7 separate regions of the Homo sapiens genome follow, and all the other regions are linked to region 2. Evidence: promoter capture Hi-C in 16 types of primary human blood cells and fetal thymus (Javierre and others, 2016). All regions are on one chromosome and are shown on one strand. Each heading gives the region's core, a stretch centred on a gene start or on the middle of the fragment in contact. The rest is flanking DNA. Distances are from core to core; before and after follow the strand shown. Region 1 has its middle 20 kb from the start of SERPINB2. Region 2 holds the start of SERPINB5 (serpin family B member 5). Region 3 has its middle 37 kb from the start of SERPINB2. Region 4 holds the start of HMSD (histocompatibility minor serpin domain containing). Region 5 has its middle 290 kb from the start of BCL2. Region 6 has its middle 240 kb from the start of BCL2. Region 7 has its middle 290 kb from the start of PHLPP1.

Evidence for each region. The method cuts DNA at HindIII sites, captures the fragments that hold promoters and counts their contacts. A CHiCAGO score of 5 or more calls a contact.
Region 1: a contact is called between a fragment that was not itself captured here and the fragment with the promoter of SERPINB5 in region 2, in 2 of 17 cell types (M1 macrophages and M2 macrophages). The highest score is 7.6, in M1 macrophages.
Region 3: a fragment that was not itself captured here is called in contact with the fragment with the promoter of SERPINB5 in region 2 in 4 of 17 cell types (M2 macrophages, M1 macrophages, M0 macrophages and 1 more); the score reaches 7.0 in M2 macrophages.
Region 4: a contact is called between the fragment with the promoter of HMSD here and the fragment with the promoter of SERPINB5 in region 2, in 11 of 17 cell types (erythroblasts, naive B cells, naive CD8 T cells and 8 more). The highest score is 7.8, in erythroblasts.
Region 5: a contact is called between a fragment that was not itself captured here and the fragment with the promoter of SERPINB5 in region 2, in 1 of 17 cell types (M2 macrophages). The highest score is 5.1, in M2 macrophages.
Region 6: a fragment that was not itself captured here is called in contact with the fragment with the promoter of SERPINB5 in region 2 in 1 of 17 cell types (endothelial precursors); the score reaches 6.5 in endothelial precursors.
Region 7: a contact is called between a fragment that was not itself captured here and the fragment with the promoter of SERPINB5 in region 2, in 2 of 17 cell types (activated CD4 T cells and M2 macrophages). The highest score is 5.7, in activated CD4 T cells.

What each region holds. Positions count from the first base shown.
Region 1 is chr18:63,866,345-63,869,054 of GRCh38, forward strand. No RefSeq gene overlaps it. Among named protein-coding and RNA genes, the nearest start is that of SERPINB2, 20 kb to the right of the region's middle. The HindIII fragment of the contact is 1,371 bases long and covers 602-1,972 here.
Region 2 is chr18:63,475,661-63,478,432 of GRCh38, forward strand. SERPINB5 (serpin family B member 5) reads left to right here and starts at 1,298. Exons shown (of 7, transcript NM_002639.5): 1 at 1,298-1,385. RefSeq lists an enhancer at 47-1,246. The HindIII fragment of the contact is 5,766 bases long and covers 124-2,772 here.
Region 3 is chr18:63,849,048-63,851,847 of GRCh38, forward strand. No RefSeq gene overlaps it. Among named protein-coding and RNA genes, the nearest start is that of SERPINB2, 37 kb to the right of the region's middle. The HindIII fragment of the contact is 8,549 bases long and covers 1-2,800 here.
Region 4 is chr18:63,947,836-63,950,574 of GRCh38, forward strand. It overlaps HMSD (histocompatibility minor serpin domain containing), which reads left to right and starts at 1,466. Exons shown (of 4, transcript NM_001123366.2): 1 at 1,466-1,565. RefSeq lists a silencer at 1,304-1,533. The HindIII fragment of the contact is 6,685 bases long and covers 1-2,739 here.
Region 5 is chr18:63,026,683-63,029,382 of GRCh38, forward strand. No RefSeq gene overlaps it. Among named protein-coding and RNA genes, the nearest start is that of BCL2, 290 kb to the right of the region's middle. The HindIII fragment of the contact is 1,117 bases long and covers 882-1,998 here.
Region 6 is chr18:63,075,003-63,077,718 of GRCh38, forward strand. No RefSeq gene overlaps it. Among named protein-coding and RNA genes, the nearest start is that of BCL2, 240 kb to the right of the region's middle. The HindIII fragment of the contact is 1,896 bases long and covers 418-2,313 here.
Region 7 is chr18:63,006,218-63,009,021 of GRCh38, forward strand. No RefSeq gene overlaps it. Among named protein-coding and RNA genes, the nearest start is that of PHLPP1, 290 kb to the left of the region's middle. The HindIII fragment of the contact is 3,147 bases long and covers 1-2,804 here.

The DNA.
Region 1 (2,710 bases), core at 37-2,536, 390 kb after region 2:
CATGTATACATATGTAACTAACCTGCACAATGTGCACATGTACCCTAAAACTTAGAGTATAATAAAAAAAAAAAGTTTAATTAATGTCATAAATTATGATGATGATGGGGAAAATAGGGATATGACTGCATTTATGGAGCCACTTCCATGTGCCCAATACTAAATATGAATAAATGCTTTATGTATTATTGCATTTAATTTCACACAAAAACTAAATGATAGATCATATTAAAGCCCATTTTACATATAAAGATATGAGAGAGCTTAATAAATTGTCCAAAGTTATCCAGGTAAGTTGGAGTAGACGTTAAAAGTTGATTGGGATTTTGTTAAGATACAGTTGATAAGAATGGGGCCTTGACATCCTGACTAACTAGCTGTGCAACCTTGAGCAAGTGCTCTACTATCCTTAAGCTCTGTTTTTCTCCTCTATGAAATGGGGCAATCATAGTACTAATACATATGGTTATCATACAAATTAAATTAGATAATATAGCTAAATTGCTTAGTACCATGAACGCATATAGTAATGTGCAATTTCAGAATTGTCATTATGCACGTAGAATGTTATTCATCACTATGATTTTATGAATCGACTCAAAGCTTGTGTTCTTTTCACTATTAAACACACTGTCTACATATAAGTACAAAAATAAGGGCGTGCGAAGTAGGTGGTTACCTCAGCCCAGCATTGATAGAAGAGGGCTGTGAAGGGGAGGGAGGAGGAAGGAAGAGCTGGAATGAATCCTGCAGAGTTCACAGCGAAGGTGCGGAGAATGATGAGGATGGCATTGAGTAGGTGGGGAGGTCAATTTCATACTGTGAAAGATAATTCCATTACATTTAATTCAGCCAACATCTGCAGAATACTTACATTGCTCAAAGCAGAGAGAAACATGATTTAACTTCCACTGTAGAATTATAGTGTAGTGAACAAGTCAGACAGGTATACCACTATCTGTTTAAATTTGGGGTGAGGGAAGCAAGTGTATGTGGTGAGGGGTTTTGTGAAGTTCTCATCCCAGGCAATGGTAACATCAAAACAAAGAAGCAAGACAAACTAAAAGCTAGATGGAAAAGTCTTTATCAAAAAGAGAAAAAAAGAAACAGAAAGAGAAATTTTAGAATTGTCATAGCCAAAGGGTCTCAAAAGCAATCATTAAACCTGGGACATGAAACCAGAAACTGGGAGTCAGAAAGCTAGAAATGTGTTGAAACAAGCTGAGAGTAACTGGGTGGGGTAAGGAATTGGGAGAGGCAAATATTTTGCATAGCTGTTTGTGCTCATGTTTGAGTTTTATGAAAATAACATAATACTTTTTAATTAATATAATGTAAATCTTCATTTTAAATTGAATTAAAAATTATGAACGGCTTTTCATTAAGTTAAATGAACACATTAAATTAAGTTAATGAATTAGTGTTCACAATCTCCACCACAGGTCTGCCTCTCTCTATTCTCTTTGCTTCTATTATGTGGGGGAGGTTTCTTGCTTCATGGATTAGTTTCTAGGCAGGAGAAACTGAGTAATGTGTATAACCCAGAGGGTAAGTTAACAGATCTAATTAAGAGCTAATAAAAAGGAGGAAAAGGAAGAGGCCTGAGGAATTTTTGTAAAGCAAGGGGTTTAGGTGTCTGAGAGGGCGTGTGAGAGTAGGGAGCAGAGAGAGACATCGAAGAGCAAAGGCAAGAGGGAGAGGCAAAGGTCCAGGCACAGGGCTGTTGTTGATAGAATTGGAAAAGAGTTGCAAAGGGATTTTTGATGTGGTGTCATGGAGGCCTCAACTGGAAACCCTCTTTCTTCCAAGAGATGGAAGCAAAGATTGGAATTGCTTTTCGATTATTTCTGGTTTGCTGGACTATCCAGACAAGGTGCATTGTAACCTGCATGTTTCCGTTGGGGTTAGCAGTAGAACTCAGATAGCTTCATCTCTTGGGAAATAGATATCAAAGAAAGATCCAGAGACAGAAAGCTTTAGAAAAGGAAAGAACAGGTAACCTCAGAAGAAAACTATGTGCAAAATTACCAAGATTTCCAAATTTACATTAATCCATCGATAGTGGAAAAAGCAATGACTTTCACGTACTTGTGTTGTATTCATAAGGGTCATGCCATAGCTTCGGATGTGACTAATTAGGGAGACCAGGTTTATTTGAGGTTTTTATTATTTGAGAGTGAAACTATAGCCAGATGTAATAACCATGTTATTAATGATCCCAAGATGCAATTTTTTTCCCATACTCAAAGTGCTTTGTTATATTAGAAGCAAGGAAGAGCGTTAGTTTTCACTTCTACACAACAAGGTTTCATAATCTATTATAAAAGCCTGTAGCAGGCTGGGTATGGTGGCTCACGCCTGTAATCCCAGCCCTTTAGGATGCCAAAGCGGGCGGATCACTTGTGGTCAGGAGTTCAAACCAGCCTAGCCAACATGGTGAAACCCCGTCTCTACTAAAAAAAAAAACAAAAATTAGCCGGGCTGTTGTGGGCTGTAGTGCACCTGTAGTCCCAGCTGCTCACGAGTCTGAGGCAGGAGAATTGCTTGAACCTGGGAGGCGGAGGTTGCAGTGAGATGAGATCGCACCATCTCACTCCAGCCTGGGTGACAGAGACAGGCTCCAGCAAAATAAATAATAAATAAATAAATAAAGCCTGAAACAATAAGCAGAAATGAACTAGAATGGGCCAATGCTACAAGAAACTAGGAA
Region 2 (2,772 bases), core at 48-2,547:
CCAGGACATGGGGGAGGGGAAGCTGTTATCAATCTTAGTTTAGTCAGTTAATATAGCGAGTTGCTCTTATTCATTACTCAACAAGCACTTATTGACTGCATACTGTACATCAGGTCTGTACCAAGCTTTGGTGTTATAAAAATGAATGAAGTTTGGCACTTACCTTTAACATTGTTGTAGTCACATATAGGAGAATGTAAGAGATTATTATGAAACAATGTAGTAAATGTACAATAGGGAATTCTAGATAAGCACAGCAGAGAAGCAACCAGCTCCGTTTCAGGTCCTTTCCTGAGACTGATTCGGCTGGAAGGGAGTAGGTCCCGCCAAATGAAGAAGCTGTGGGAAGACAGGAGGACAAGAACAGGCTCCACGAAGAGATTTCAGAGCAGAGCTGCGTACTCCTTTTTCTTTTTGTTTCTTTTGCTCTGTCACCCAGGCTGAAGTACAGTGGTTAGCTCACGGCTCACTGCAGCTTTGACCTCCCAGGCTCAAGTGATCCTCTCGTCTCAGCTTTCCAAGTAACTGGGACCACAGGCATGCATCACCACACTAGGCTATTGTTTTACATTTTTTGTAGAGATGGGGTCTCACCATGTTGCCCAGGTTGGTCTCAAACTCCTGGGCTCAAGCAATCCGCTCACGTCAACCTCCCCAAATGCTGGGATTACAGGCGTGAGCCACCGCGCCAGGCCTGAGTAATCCTAATCACAGGATTTTAAAAAGAAACTTCCTGCGCCACCCATTAAACAATATCTCCTACCAATTTGGTAGTAAATATTTTGCTAATAGTACCTAATTTTTAGGTAGGCACTGTGTTTATACATATATCCATTCCTTCTTTTTTGATTGTCTTTCTGTTTAATGGGCAGCTACCTCTCTTGGCATCTAGCAGAATGAGCTGCTGCAGTTTACACAAAAAGAATGGAGATCAGAGTACTTTTTGTGCCACCAACGTGTCTGAGAAATTTGTAGTGTTACTATCATCACACATTACTTTTATTTCATCGAATATTTCACCTTCCGGTCCTGCGTGGGCCGAGAGGATTGCCGTACGCATGTCTGTACGTATGCATGTAACTCACAGCCCCTTCCTGCCCGAACATGTTGGAGGCCTTTTGGAAGCTGTGCAGACAACAGTAACTTCAGCCTGAATCATTTCTTTCAATTGTGGACAAGCTGCCAAGAGGCTTGAGTAGGAGAGGAGTGCCGCCGAGGCGGGGCGGGGCGGGGCGTGGAGCTGGGCTGGCAGTGGGCGTGGCGGTGCTGCCCAGGTGAGCCACCGCTGCTTCTGCCCAGACACGGTCGCCTCCACATCCAGGTCTTTGTGCTCCTCGCTTGCCTGTTCCTTTTCCACGCATTTTCCAGGATAACTGTGACTCCAGGTAAGCAAGGTGGGGTAGCAGGGCTGGTGACTTCCTTTTTTCAGGGAAATTCATAAATATCGTTATTTGAGCTGATTTGAGATGGTGAACAAAATGGACTTAGGTCCATTTTGGGGCTGTTTTCAAAGACGGGCTGTTGGGTTGAGTACTGTCGCCTCTCATCCCCCATGTTGGCAGTATTTCCAGCTCCCAACCCTTTGAGCACCAGGAACACTGCAGAGGGAGTAAAATCACTTAACCATACAAGGTAAGAATATGAAGAAGTCACGTGGCTCGGAGGTTTTGGTGGTAGAGGGGTGCAACCGTGATTCACGGAGGAGAAAATACTTCTGAGGACATTTTCAGGCCTACTTTGGAACTCAGAATGAATTTTGCAATGCTAGTTTCAGAAAGGGTGTGGTACCCGCAAACTGGGGAAAGTTGAGAAGTATTGGTGGGTCTGGCTGGCTCTTCTCCCTGGCTGACGTTGTAAGGCTGAGATTTAGGCATATGGACTGCCCTTCTTTTTGGCATTTTTAAGCATCAGATCGCTGTTCATCTACTTGCAACTGCATTCTTCTAAGCGGAAATTATTCTCCCTTCAGTTTTCTGGGTTTCAGCATAACTTTAAACAAGTTACACATTTCAGATGCATATTCTTGGACTTATAAATTGTAATAGCTGCTTGTAGTTTCTTACTCATATGCTGTACACTTTTTCTTATGGCTTCATTTAAGCATATCATACTAAAAACCAACATGCCAGGCTATTCCAGAGACTTGTAACCAGATCCTCAGAGCTGGGGGCTCTTAGACATATTTCAGCCCAGCCCCCTCATTCTGTAGATGAGGAGCAGAACTCACAGAGGTGATCTGGTGTCCAAAGGCACACAGCTTGTAAGTAGCACCGCTGAGATCAAATCAGGCCTTCACACTTGCAGCTCGGGATGTTTCCACAACACCGTGGGTTCTGTTACCATCTTTTTCATCCCCTACATCTCCCGGGAGGTTTTCGATAATGGGTTCCAAACCTCAGTCCCTGTCAGTTAGTGTAAGTGTTCGATGAGTTCCTTCATGGGTGGAGATGAAGCCTGTCTGAGGAAAGGAGTCTCCAAAGGAAATGAGTCAGCAGGTTTATATCTTTGCTTCCTAACGCCTTGAATTGTGCCACTTCAATCCCTCTGGGTTGTGGATTGACTTTGGGGCTATGCAGTCTCAGCGATTTGGGCCATTCTGGTGTGGCTGAGTCTGGCTGTAAGTTTACTGCTTGGCAACAGTGGGCTGGGTCAGTGGTCAAGATCAGGCTTCTAAAGAGACAGGAGCAGCTATGATGCTTCAGAGCAAAGCAGACGCCCCCCTGCCATGGGAAATTAAAGCAATTACTAATAGCTGTATTGTACTTTCTTGCC
Region 3 (2,800 bases), core at 108-2,607, 370 kb after region 2:
AAGTAAAAACATTTGCTCTTCCTAGTAAACAAAAAGGTGAATCAGAAATTGGGAGAAAATATTTGTACACATATAGCAGATAAAGGTCTTATATTCAAAATAATAAACTCAAAGAAAAACATTCAGTTAAAACACATGCAAAATATTCTAGCAGACACCTTACATAAGAAAATATACAGATGGCCAATAAGCACATGAAAAGATGGACAACAACATGAGTTATCAGATAAATGCTTAAGGTATTTTTAAAGTCTCTGAAATCGGGTTATGTCTTACTATTTAGGTGCTTGCAATTGGTGTGCTCCTTTTGATGTAAAGTTAATTTTATTTTTAGAAGCAATATTTATTGGGTACTAAGGTTTGGGCAATGTTTTAAACACTTTGTATGCATTATGTCACTTAATTCTCACAAAACCTATGAAGGGAGTACTATAATTAAATCCATCTTCATGGGTGAGGAAATTGAAGCTCACAGAGTGCTTATAACTTGCCCTAGTCCCACAGCTAACAGATGGCAACACCAGGCCTGGAACCCTCTAGCTACCACTATAGCCCATGGGCTTAACTATTATGCTATTTTAAAAATTATTACACTAATGGTGAATGGTCAGTGGAGAATGCCTCAGAAAACAGAGCCTTCTCTGGAGTCCTGATATTAACTTATTTCATTACATTTTGTGGAGAATACCTCAGAAAACAGACCCTTCTCTGGAGTCCTGATATTAACTTATTTCATTACATTTTGTGGATCATTAGATGAATCACTGTAAGGTAAGTGCCTAGTGCCTAGTAGGTATGATCTATTAATGCTACTTCCCTTTCTTCCATCTATTTTGAGGCTTTTGGAAATTGCCAAAATAAATGTTTGAAAATTACATGATTCAATCAATTTAAGCCAGATTTTTATTTATCACTACTATCATTCAACTTTTAACAATCATCTTTTTTTGTGAAAGAATTTTGAATGATGCAGTATTCTTTATTTTTTAACCTGAAAGCATTTTGAATGCTGCAATATTCTTGATCATGGTTCTCAACTAAGGGTGATTTTGCCCCTGGGCGACATCTGGCTCTGTGTCTAGAGACATCTTTGATGGTCAGAATTGTAGGGAAGGGCTGCTACTGCCATCCGGTGGTTAGAAGCCAGAGATGTGGCTGAACATGCTACAATGTAAAGGACAGCCCCACAACAAATAATTACCCAGCCCAAAATGTCAACAGTGCTGATGTTGAGAAATCCTGCTTTACACAATATGCGGGACTTAATTATTTATTGACATCAGTTGAGAATACTGAAATGCTGCAGGAAATGAAAGAAGACTTGGTCTCTGATAGCGTATAGTTACCAAGCCAATGAGGGAAATAAAGAAAATAACACCATGAACTCTACCACTATTATTATAATAAATGTTACAACAGAAAATAATAGAATATTTTAAGGTTTTAAACAAGGGGACTGTAGTCGGATAACACAATGAAAAAAATCAGAAAATGCTCTTTGAGAATCAAGTATGGAAGTACTGTATTTCCTTAATAAAAATAAAATTCGGCTTCTTTAGGGTTGATAATAGAAAATAATTCTTGTTTGCCAAACTTCATTTTCCTTTTAATTCTCTGAGGTATGATGAGACAAAATAGAAATTGTTTAAGGAGACTTAACTAAAGGATGTGGAGTCAACCAAACAGAACAATGTAAAACTGGATGATATCTTACAAAATATGCTTGCACTCTGGGGCTTGAACATGTCCCATCCTGATCTCGGGCCCTCCTCCACAGTCAGGGTGACTCTTAATACCTAGTACACACAATCAAAAATCCAGGCATTTAAATGTCTTCAACGCTGGACCTAGAGAGAAATACAGTTCCCTCCCCCCTCACTCATAGTTACCTCTGAACTGTATTTTCTGTTTTAGCACCTCCTTCACTTTCCAGTGATTGACATGTTCATTGAAATTGCTTCCCCTCTTACAGTGGTGTGGCCTTAATCTGTGTGCTGAACAGGATAACTCTCTTAGAATGTAATACTAAGCCCCGCACAGTCATGTCCTAGATTTAGACGTGGATTAGCAGAGACAGTAGACTGTGGCCGCATTGATGGTAAGATTTTAGACATCGTCTAGTCTAGTATAGGAGATTATTCCTATTGACAGTATATTTAGGTGGAATCCATTTCTAATGCTGTCTTTCAAGAATAATGCAAGGTATGCACTAATCATATATAGATTGTCAGAAACTATTGTATCTAATGGAGAGAAGCCACTGTTAGCACCAGGGAAGCATCAATAGGAGACAAGGTCAAAGGGTGAGCTAGGAATCCAAAGGTAGGGAAGAATTAGGCAAACGGTTGCTATATGTTGATTGTGAGTGATAAAACAGGGCTTGTGCTGGGAGTAATGAGATATTTGATAACATATTTCTTCTTTTTATGAAAACAATAGGTCTTGCCCGGGCACGGTGGCTCACCCATATAATCTCAGCACTTTGGGAGGCCGAGGCGGGCAGATCACCTAAGGTCAGGAGTTTGAGACCAGCCTCACCCACATGGTGAAATCCCATCTCTACTAAAAAAAAAAAAAAAAAAAATTAGCCAGATGTGGTGGCAGGCATCTGTAATCCCAGCTACTCAGGAGGCTGAGGCAGGGAGAATCACTTGAACTGAGAGGCAGAGGATGCAGTGAGCTGAGATCACACCAGAAAACAGGGAGATCTTGAGGCATAGCAGTTCCCGGTAACTTTAAAACTGATGCTGGCCAGGAAAGGGACCCAACGGTTTGCACTTGTTTAACCTGCATTTGAGGT
Region 4 (2,739 bases), core at 216-2,715, 470 kb after region 2:
AAAACAAATTAAGAAAACGTTTACTCCAATTCTCTAAATCTCTTTCAGAAGATAGAAGCAGAAGAACTACTTTCTAATTCATTCTATAGGGCTGGAATTACTCTGATAACAAAACCAGACAAAGACATTAGAAGAAAAGAAACTTAAAGACCAATATCTTTCATTAGTATAGATGCAAAATCCTGAACAACATATTCACAAATGAAATCAAACTATGTGTAAAATAGTTGGATTATACATTGTGACTAAGTAAGATTGATTGCAGGTGTACAAGACTAATTCAACATTTGAAAATCAAAGGAATCCGTCATATCAACAGGTAAAAAACAGAAAAAATCCTCAAAAAATTGCTAGCAACTCCAATTCAACAACACATTAAACAGATCACTCACCACGATCAAGTGAGATTCACCCGGGTATGCAAGTATGATTCAATATACACAAATCAATAAATGCGATACATTGCATTAAAAGAACCAACAACAAAAACTGCACGATCATTTCAATAGATGCCGAAAATGTATTCAGTAAAATCCTACATCTCTTTATGATAAAAATCCTTAACACATTGGGTATAGAAGGAATATACCTCAAAACAATAAAAACCAAAATGAAAAACCCACTGCTAATATCATACTGAACAGGGAAAAATTGAAAACCTTTCCTATAAGATCTGCAACAAGACAAGGATGCCCAGTTTCACCCCCTTTATTCAGTATCTGACTGGAAGTCCTGGCCGGGGCAATTAGGCAAGAAAAAGAAACAAAGGACACCCAAACTGGAAAGAAAGATGTAAAATTAGCTTTGCTCACCAATGGTATAATCTTATAATCGGAAAAACCAAAAGACTCCCCTCAAAAACTACTAGAACTAATAAATGAATCAGTAAAGTTGCAGAATACAAAATGGATATAAAATATCCGTAAGATGTCTATACATCTACAGTGAACAGTCTGAAAAAGAAATCAAGAAAGAAATCCCACTTACAATAGCTATAAGAAATATGATGTATAAAATACCTAGTAATCAATTTAATTAAAAAAGTGAAAGACTTCTACAAGGACAACTATAAAACACTGATGAGAAAAACGTGAAGAACACACACAGAAAATGGACACATATTCATGCTCATAGGTTGGAATAATTAATGTTAAAAGTACAATGCTACCCAAACAATTTACAGATTGAATGCAATCCCTGTCAAAATACCAATGTCATTCTTCACAGAAATAGAAAAAAAAAAAAACCCTATAATTTGTATGGAACCACGAAAAACCCCAAATAGCCAAAGCGCATTATCGCTTCTTGACTGAAAACTCCCGGACAGTTGGGGCTTTTTCCTGCACAGAGATTGGCCACTTCCTGCACATCAGGAGATCCCCGCGGCCTGCGGGACCCGCCCCGCCCTCCTGCCCAGGCGCCCGCTAGGTGGTGCCTGGCTGGGCCCGACTCCGCCCGCCTCCCCATTCACTGGGAACTAACACCCGGCGCCGCTCAGACATCTCTATTCCCGCCTCTCCGACCCGGTCTCACTTCGCTCCTGGGCAGCTGCGCGGAGAACTGGGGTAGGTGTTTGACTTTGGGAGTGGTTCCCACACGCTGGATTCTCGTTACCTGCTCTTGAGCCCAGGAAAAGGGCGGGAACCTACGAAAGGGAAGCCCAGTGAAGTGCTCAGCGCACCTGTTGCTCCAGACCTTTCCCTGGGGCTGTCCTTCTTTACTCGGTCTCTGGCGGGGGCTCCCTAAGGGCAGGGACTTGGCTGCACTTGGCTGTGTGCCCTATGGGTCCAGGCGCGGGGAGGGGAGGCCAGGGCGAATGGGCGCGGAGCTGGGGGGTGAAAGTCCTGCCTGGGCTCCACTCATCCTGCAGGAGCTGGAAGTAGGTACAATGAGGCCTCCCACCCTGGTGAAGTTTATGTTGGGCGCTGGAAGGGGCTGTGAGGCCTGGGACCTCCAGGAAAAACAACAGCAGCAGTATTTATTTGTCGGTACCGAAACTCGTATGCTCTCAGTATTCAGAATTTGTACTTGACATTCCTCCTCCTTTAAAAGAAACCAGGAGAGGCGTTGATAGTATGTTTTTGGACTGGAAAAAAATCAAAATGAGGACGATACTGTTGCCAGAAAGCAAAAGTGTTGGGATAGTGTAAAAAGAAAGTAACCAATTTACAGAGATTCCCAGTAGACAAGTTGTGAGAATTTGCTCAAGAACAAAAACCAGTATGTGTTAATTGAAATACATGTTACAACAAAGCCAAGAAAGAGTCCTTTAGTAAATTCAGATAAAACAAGTAAAATGGGCCAGGCGCGGTGGCTCACGCTTGTAATCCCAGCACTTTGGGAGGCTGAGGGGGGCGGATCACGAGGTCAGGAGTTCGAGACCCAGCCTGGCCAATATGGTGAAACCCAGTCTCTACTAAAAATACAAAAATTAGCCGGGTGTCGTGACATGGGCCTGTAGTCCCAGCTACTCAGGAGGCTGAGGCAGAAGAATCGCTTGAACCTGGGAGGCAGAGGTTGCAGTGAGCCAAGATTGCACCACTGCACTCCAGCCTGAGGGACAAAGCGAGACTCTCTCTCAAAAAAAAAAAAAAAAAAAAAAAAAAATGTAAGATGAGTTTAAAGGAGGCAGGAAATAATTTCAATAATGTTTACAAGAAATGCTGTGTGATGATTCATATACGACTGCTGTGTAGGAATAGTGACTATAGGCACCTAGGTTGACAGGCACAGTGGTTA
Region 5 (2,700 bases), core at 190-2,689, 450 kb before region 2:
CCTCACCAGACACCAAATCTGCTGGCACCTTGATCTGGGACTTCTCAGCTTCTCAAACGATGAGAAATACATGTATGTTGTTTATAAGTCACCTAGTGTATGGTATTTTCTTACAGCAGCCAGGGATGGACTAAGACAACTGCCAGCCTTTCTCTTGTATGTATGAATAAACACTTTTCAAAATAATGACAGGGAATTATTCTGAAATATTATTTCCTAACCTGCTTTTCACTTCACAGATGGTAATAATTTTCTTTTCTGTTTTTTTGTTTGTTTGTTTGTTTTTGTTTTCTTTTTTTTTTTGAGATGGAGTCTAGCTCTGTCACCCAGGCTGGAATTCAGTGGCGTGATCTTGGCTCACTGCAACCTCCGCCTCCCGGGTTCAAGTGATTCTCCTGCCTCAGCCTCCCAAGTTACTGAGATTACAGACGTCCACCACCACATCCAGGTAATTATTGTATTTTTAATAGAGACTGGGTTTCACTATGTTGGCCAGGCTGGTCTAGAACTTCTGACCTCAGGTGACCCACCTGCATCGGCTTCCCAAAGTGCTGGGATTACAGGCGTGAACCACCACGCCCAGCCACGATAATAATTTTCCATGTGAAAAATGGTCTTTTCAGAATCACTGCTGCCTCTTTTTTTGGGGACCGAAAATCTGTGGAGACAGTTTTAGTTGTCATAATAATGAGAGGTGGGAGTGGGATGTGGTGGCAACGTGCAAATGACATTTAGAAGACAAAGGAGTGAAAAATTAGATGTCCTCCAAAACTCGAGTCCAGCCCCAGTTTTGAACATCCTAATGGACATTCATACAGGTAAAAAAAAAATTTATAATGATTTGAAACCCAAACCTAACTTCATTTTGCATATAAGCACGAAGCTTTTTGGTGTGGTTTTAGTATACACTAAATTTTCCAGCAATGCAACTAATAGTGTGTTTAGACCTTTTACTGTGAAATGTTGACTCAACCACCTGGAGAATCTCGTCAGCAATGGCAATGCCAGTGACAGCAGCTCAATCAACATCACAACATCACACCACCTGTATATAGGTGTGTGGTGGTCACTGTATCTGTGATGACTATACATAGAGGTGAATATACTTATTTAGCCTTCTATTTCTAAACATCATATAAATAAAGTGTCTACATTTAGTGGAACATTGTCTTATTCCTACTAAATCTCAACTTATTTAAAAGTAGATTCAAGCATCTGACTTCTTCATTGTATCTTCAAATGTAGTTGTGTCTAAAAATTGCAAATTGACACTGTGATCTCTTGGCAATGCACACTTCTTCTAAGCTCTGCCTTCTGCCTCTGGGGCTGGAAACCTCCAAGTTCCAGCTCCTAGATTCCTTCCCATCTTGCCTCACTTGAGGGTCTGCCAGTAGGAGACACTGGCTTCTGGTTCATCCTGGATCTTATGCTATGAAGGATGGCAGCCACAGCCTGGCTACCAGCGACTCTGAGTAACACCATTTCTGTTTTTGCTTCTCCAGTTCTCGGGGGTAGTCATTCCCTATAGTTACTAATCCTGGAAAACCCTACCTTCATCGATTTGCTCTTCCAGCCTTTCCAAAATCTTTGTAACCAATTCTCTACATTAACTCTCCTCTGAAATACCTACAGTAGTTGTTTTTGTGACTGGACATATATGGATAAAAAATGCATAGGTTTTATTCTATTTGAATTGTTTCTATTATGGTCAGGCCATTGTGTACATTCTTTTAAAAAATTATGCACCTGAGTAAATATATTATCTGTGAATTTAATTTCAGGGTAACAAAAGAGGGGTATTACAAAATATTTATTACTATTATAAAGGGGTGTTGAGCTTGACAGAGTTGAAAACCACTCATCTATGTCATCCTTTTTAGTGACTTCCTTTATCTTCTTACACCTTCCCCTGTTGTTTGACATTCAGGTTACTGCTCACATGTCATCCCCCCATTTATACCGTATTAGTTACTTGTTGCCTTCCTCCACCAAAAGATAAGCTTTATGAGGGCAGCCATTTAATCTGTTGCGTTCACCACTAGACTACTAGTATCTGAATATGTTAGCTACTCAGTAGATACCAAATCAGTACTTGCATATGTTAATTACTCAATAAATATTTTAAAAATAGATGGATGAATCTTTCAGATCTTGGCTTTGACATTATTTCTTCCTGTAAGTCTTTCCTGACATGCCTTGGTCAGATGAAATGTCCATCCTTGTGAATAAAATGATAGCAGAATTGTGGATGAGAACCAAATAACAAGCAAACAGTAACACATAGTATCCAATCAGACCATAGAGAGGTTATTAGAGTCCAAACAAATGATGAAGGAAATTGGTTACAATATGGGTAGGGGCACATCTACCCAACTCAGGTAATAAAGAGGTGAAAAGGGTTTGATTAAAAAGTGGATAAAATAGAAACACGATGCACTGGTTGAAGACTAAATCCCAGTTGAAAAGCGTGGCTTTGGGTTTCTGGTTGATGGAATTGGTTCAGTATATTCACCCATGCTTTGGTAGGGTCAGTCATGCCCACATCCCACTCAATCTCTGACCAATAAGCAATTTCACTGTAGTCCTGAAACTTCATCCCAGTCTTATCAGTGCTGTTCCAAGTGATAAGAATCTGTCCTCTCTACTTAAGTGGCTTTACAGTTCTAAGATTATATTAATATAAGCAGAGAAATGGTGAAG
Region 6 (2,716 bases), core at 116-2,615, 400 kb before region 2:
TGTTCTGCAGGGTTGCGTGTCAGTTACAGTTGTCATTTGTAAGCAGTAGAATCCGGTCTGACCAGTTTAAGCAGAAAAGAACTTAGGAGAGACAGAAGGGAGTTCACACAACGTTTGGGACAGATGGGAAAAGAGGCCTGAGACAATGAAAGGGACACTCCCAGAACCAACTGACCCTTTCCGGAATCTGCTGCCCACCCCGGGACCACACCGCCTTTGCCCAGAATGCGCCACTGAAATGACAGCGGCTCCCGGAGACGCGCAGCCAGCCAGCTCCCTCCCGCGGCCCGAGGCCCCCGTGTCTGATTGGCAGGCCTGGTCACGTGCCCGCATTTTGGCTGGGAAAGAGTCAGGGAAGGCACCGATTCAGATTCTCCCTTGGGGAAACAACTAAAATGCACGCAAGGTGGCCTAAAAAGCTTGGCAGATTCACTTTGGGCCATAAAGATATTCTTCAAACTTAAAAATAAAAAAATAAAAATAAAAGAAACTAAACTAAAAAATATCTTCATGAACAACATACAGTTATGCTTTGTCTTATTTAAAAATTTTCCATACATAGAATTATGATATTCACATTCGATGAAATTTTGCATTCAAGATGTGGTTGAGGTCTCACGTCTCAGTAGTGTTTAGTTGCGATTTTTCGTGCTGAGGTCTTTAATTCTTCTGGAATTAATTTTTGTATAATTAGTGTAGGAGTCTTTTATATGAAAAGCCAATGCTTCCATCATCAATGATGGCACAAGCTCATCTTTCCCTGCTGATCTCTAGTGCCACCGCTATCATATTCCACATCCCACGTAGCCCCTACATGTGAATCCTGCATGAACATGGATTTGCACCAGGCTCTCTATTCTGTCCGCTGCCTCTTCCTCTGCTCAGACAACTATATTTTAATTTCTGTGACTGTCTAGAATGTTTCAGAATCCGCAGGCCAACTGCTCCTGCCCACCCATTGTTCTTATTTTTCGAAATTATCTTGGCAATGATAATTCACTTTTCCATATGAATTTTAGAATCACGTTACAAATGAACAGAAAAGTTCTGCTGAGATTTTATTTGGAATTTACTTAAATTTATAGATAATTTGGGCAGAATTGACATGTTTATGCTTTTGAGACCTCTTACCCATTATTCAGATCTTCTTTTATATCCTTTAATAAAACTATAATTTTTTCCCATAAAGCTCTTAAAAATGGTACGTAATGTATATTCTTTAGGTCCTTTATAGTTTTGCTGCTATTGTGAGCTGGCTTTTTTTTTTTCCAATTTTTTCCCATTTGTTATTGTTCACATTCAAAAGTTATTGAATTTTGCATGTTGATCTTGTAATCAGTAGCCTTGCTGAATCCTTTTTTAGTTCTAAAAGATTTTCTGTTGATATCTATGCATTTTCTTTGTTCTTTCTTTCTTATTTTATTTTATTTATTTATTTTTTTGAGACAGAGTTTTGCTCTTGTTGCTCAGGCTGGAGTGCAATGGTTCGATCTTGGCTCACTGCAACCTCTGCCTCCCAGTTCAAGTGATTCTCCTGCCTCAGCCTCCTGAGTAGCTGGGGTTACAGACACGTGCCACCACACCTGGCTAATTTTTTTGTATTTTTAGTAGAGATGGGGTTTCACCATGTTGGTCAGGCTGGTCTCAAACTCCCGACCTCAGGTGATCCACCTGCCTCGCCCTCTCAAAATGCTGGGATTACAGTCATAAGTCTCCGTGCGCCACCCATCTATGCATTTTCTATGCCTAAAAATAATAAATTTTCACTTCCTTTCCAAACCTTATGCATTTTATTTATTTGTTGCTTACTGCATTCGCTAGTATTTTCTGTGTAAAGTTGACTGGGGTGGTGATGGCTGCCCTGCTTGCCTTTTCTTGGTTTTAATAGGGATAATCCAGAAAGATGTGATATGATTGCTTTAGGTTTTTGATAAAAACCCTTCATCAAATTAAGGAAGTTCTCTTCCATTTCTAGCTTCCTAAGAGTTTTTCTTTTAGATAAGAGAAGGTGTTGAATTTATAGAATAAAATGTGTCATTTTATTTCTTTTTGATCTATAAATGTTGTAAAGTTCTCCTGATGGATATTTCTGACATTCTTACCTTCCTGGGAAACATCAAAATTAGTTGTGATCGTTAAAAAAAAAATACTCTGGTTGGATTCCATTTGCTAATATTTATTCAGGAATTTTAATCTACATTATAAGTGAGATAACCTATAGTTTCTGTCTCTTGTACTGTCCTTGTTTCATTTTGGTGTTAATTCTACACTATCTAAACTCAGTGGCCTACTGTCCTTTTCTGTTGTCTGGGAAGCTTATATAAGATAGCAATGACCTTTTCCTTAAAGGTTTGATGAAATTCACTGCTGAAATCAGCTAAGACTAGTGTCTTTTTGGGGAGGTGGCTTGAGGGCAGGTATATTTGATTGTCAAATCAATTTCTTTAATGCTAATTGTTTTATTCAGTTTTTCTATTTTAAAATTCAGCCAATTTCAGAATAGACATAAAATTGTGCCACAGATTCCCTTATGATTTTGTTTCTGCTGCATATGTGGTTACATTATATTTTCTATTCCTAATGTTTATTTGTTCATTTTTCTTTATTTATCAGCCTTAATGGGGATTTATTTTATTAGCATTATTTTTCTTTTCTAAGACTCATTCTGTCATTTCTATTTTACTTTTGTTTCCTTTTCTTATTTTTTTGTTTTTAT
Region 7 (2,804 bases), core at 253-2,752, 470 kb before region 2:
GAGAATGCACCTTTATATCATGGACAGTTTCCAGTAGACCCTGAAGAGGCATCTGTGGTTGACCTCGGCTGGGCTGATGCAGTGCGAATCCCATCCCATTTTCCTATCTGGCTTCCTCTGCCGTGGGTCTGGCTGGGATTGCCTTCTCTGCAAGGCCTATGTGTGGTGCCAGGTCCCGGTGAACCAGGCTATGTAGCAGAATCCTGCACACACGTACTGCACCAAGCTCTCCTGTGTATTGGCGTCCTGTCCTCCTATGGTAAGACCACCTCATGATTCAGCATGGCCAAGGGGCGTGAGCTCTGTGCTGGAGAGCATGGGAGGGGAGGCTTCTCAGGGGTGGAACGATCTGAGCAAAGACGACCCTAACAGCTTCGGTGATCCTCCTTTCTTGCCTTGCTTTTAGCACACATAAACACATGTCGCCTTACATAAATAGGATTGAACCATCCAAACTCCCCGCTCCCGGTGATCTATATTAACCTAGTGTTGTTTTCTACACTTTCCAATATATACATATTCCTATGGCCTATATGTTCATATAGATAGGTAATTAGCACATGCACATGGGGGATACCAAATATTGGTCAGCAGCTTCAGAGTATGTCAGTCTGATCAGTCCAAGATAAAATTCCTATCAACTTTTCACCGAGTGCTCTGACCCTCTGCTCATAATGCAGCCTAGGTCCATTATTCCGAGAGATGTTACAAAATGGCGATTTCTAGCTCTGTCATTCCTTCTGAAATAATTAGCTGGAATTCTTGGATAAAAGCAAACTGCCTTATGAACTGTTTGGTTGCCCTGAAATATGATTTGTTCAGGAAAGGCAGAATAAATGTTGGCTTCTTTTTCTGTATCAATTTTCAGAATAATGAACTGATGCCCTAGTGTTCTCCAACAGTGACCAATAATTTTTTTTAGTGCAATTGTTAATTCATGGATTTTGTGTATTTTATGTGTTTCAATACATTGCATTTATTGTTTTTTTAAATACTCAAATTGTTCCAGCTCACATCAGTGGGAGCCCTTTTAAGTTTTGGCTCCTGTGGCCAGTTTTAAATTATTTTGCTGTTCTTTCTTGTCCTGAGGGCATATTCCGCCAAGTATGTACAGTCAAAATACTGCCTCTAAAGGCCACCAAAGCCATTCTTTCTCTGTGAGACTCTGCCAGCTGATTAATATACATTAGGTTCATTATACATATCTTTCTATTTCTGCATGCTTGACAATTTCCATAATTTTAAAAATGTATGACTTCTTCAACAATTCCTCTCTTAGGGTTCCATCCTGTAGAAATGAAAGCGTCAGCATGTAAGGACATATGTGTAAGGATGTTTCTTGCAGCCTTGTGCAGAGTGACCTGGAACCAGGAAAAAGGGATGCTCGTTAGTAATTTTTTTAGTTACATGGCCCAAAGTTAAACCTATAAGAAGGTAATCTCAAGCAGTGTAGTTTCTGTTCTTGCTAACCATTTTTATTAGTTTTCTTTAATTCTTTTCTTTTCCTTTTTTTGAGGCAGGGTCTCCCCCTGTTGCCCAGGCTGGAGTGCGGTGGCAGAATCATGGCTCACTGCAGCCTGGAGGTCCTGGGCTCAAGGGAACCTCCCACCTCAGCCTCCCAAGTAGCTGGGACTACAGGTATGTGCCACCACACCCAGCTAATTTTTAAATTTTTGTAGAGACGGGGTCTCAATATGTTGCCCAGGCTGGTCTTGAACTCCTGGAGTCAAGCAATCCTCCCACCTCAGCCTCCCAAAGTTCTGGGATTACAGGTGTGAGTCACCGTGCCTGGGCATTTTGCTTTTTTTTTTTTTTTCCCAATATTTCCTTGGGATGGATTTCTAGAAGTGAATTTACCGAGTCAAAGGGTAAAGCATATGCAATTTTTGTAGATATTGCCAAATTCCCTTTCATAAAGGTCGTGCTGTTTTGCATTCTTTTTTTTTTTTTTTTTTTTTTTTTGAGATGGAGTCTTGCTCTGTCGCCCAGGCTGGAGTGCAGTGGCACGATCTCCACTCACTGCAAGCTCCGCCTCCCAGGTTCACGCCTTTCTCCTGCCTCAGCCTTCAGAGTAGCTGGGACTACAGGCGCCTGCCACCATGCCCGGCTAATTTTTTGTAATTTTAGTAGAGACGGGGTTTCACCTTGTTAGCCAGGATGGTCTCGATCTCCTGACCTCGTGATCCGCCTGCCTCGGCCTCCCAAAGTGCTGGGATTACAGGCGTGAGCCACCACGCCCGGCCTGCTGTTTCGCATTCTTAACAACAATATACGAAGGTGCCTGTTTCCTCCACCCTGATCACAGAACGCTTATCATAGCTGTGAATATTTGCCGATCTGATAGGTGAGAAATGGCACCGTAGTATGGCTTTAATTTGCCTTTCTCTTATGAGTGGAGTTTCATATTTTTTCATACCTTTAAGGGTCATTTGCATTCTTTTTTGGTGAATTATCTGTTGTGTCTTTTATCAGTTTTTTCATTCAAGTTGTTGGCCCTTCAATTTTCTGGTGCTTTATACATTCAGGAAATTAGTCTTTTGTCTGTAATACAAATTGCAAATATTTTTTTCCAGTCTTTTGACTTCGCTATGTTGTTCTTTTTAATTAATAGACTTCATTTTTAAGAACAGTTTTAGGTTTACAGAAAAAATTGCCCAGAAAGTACAGAGTTCCCAAATACCCTCTCTTCTCCCTACACACAGCTTCCCTTATTATCAGCATCTTACAAATTGTACACGTGTTACAGTTCAGGAGCCAATATTGACATAATTATCAACTGAAATCTGTAGTTTACATTAGGGTTC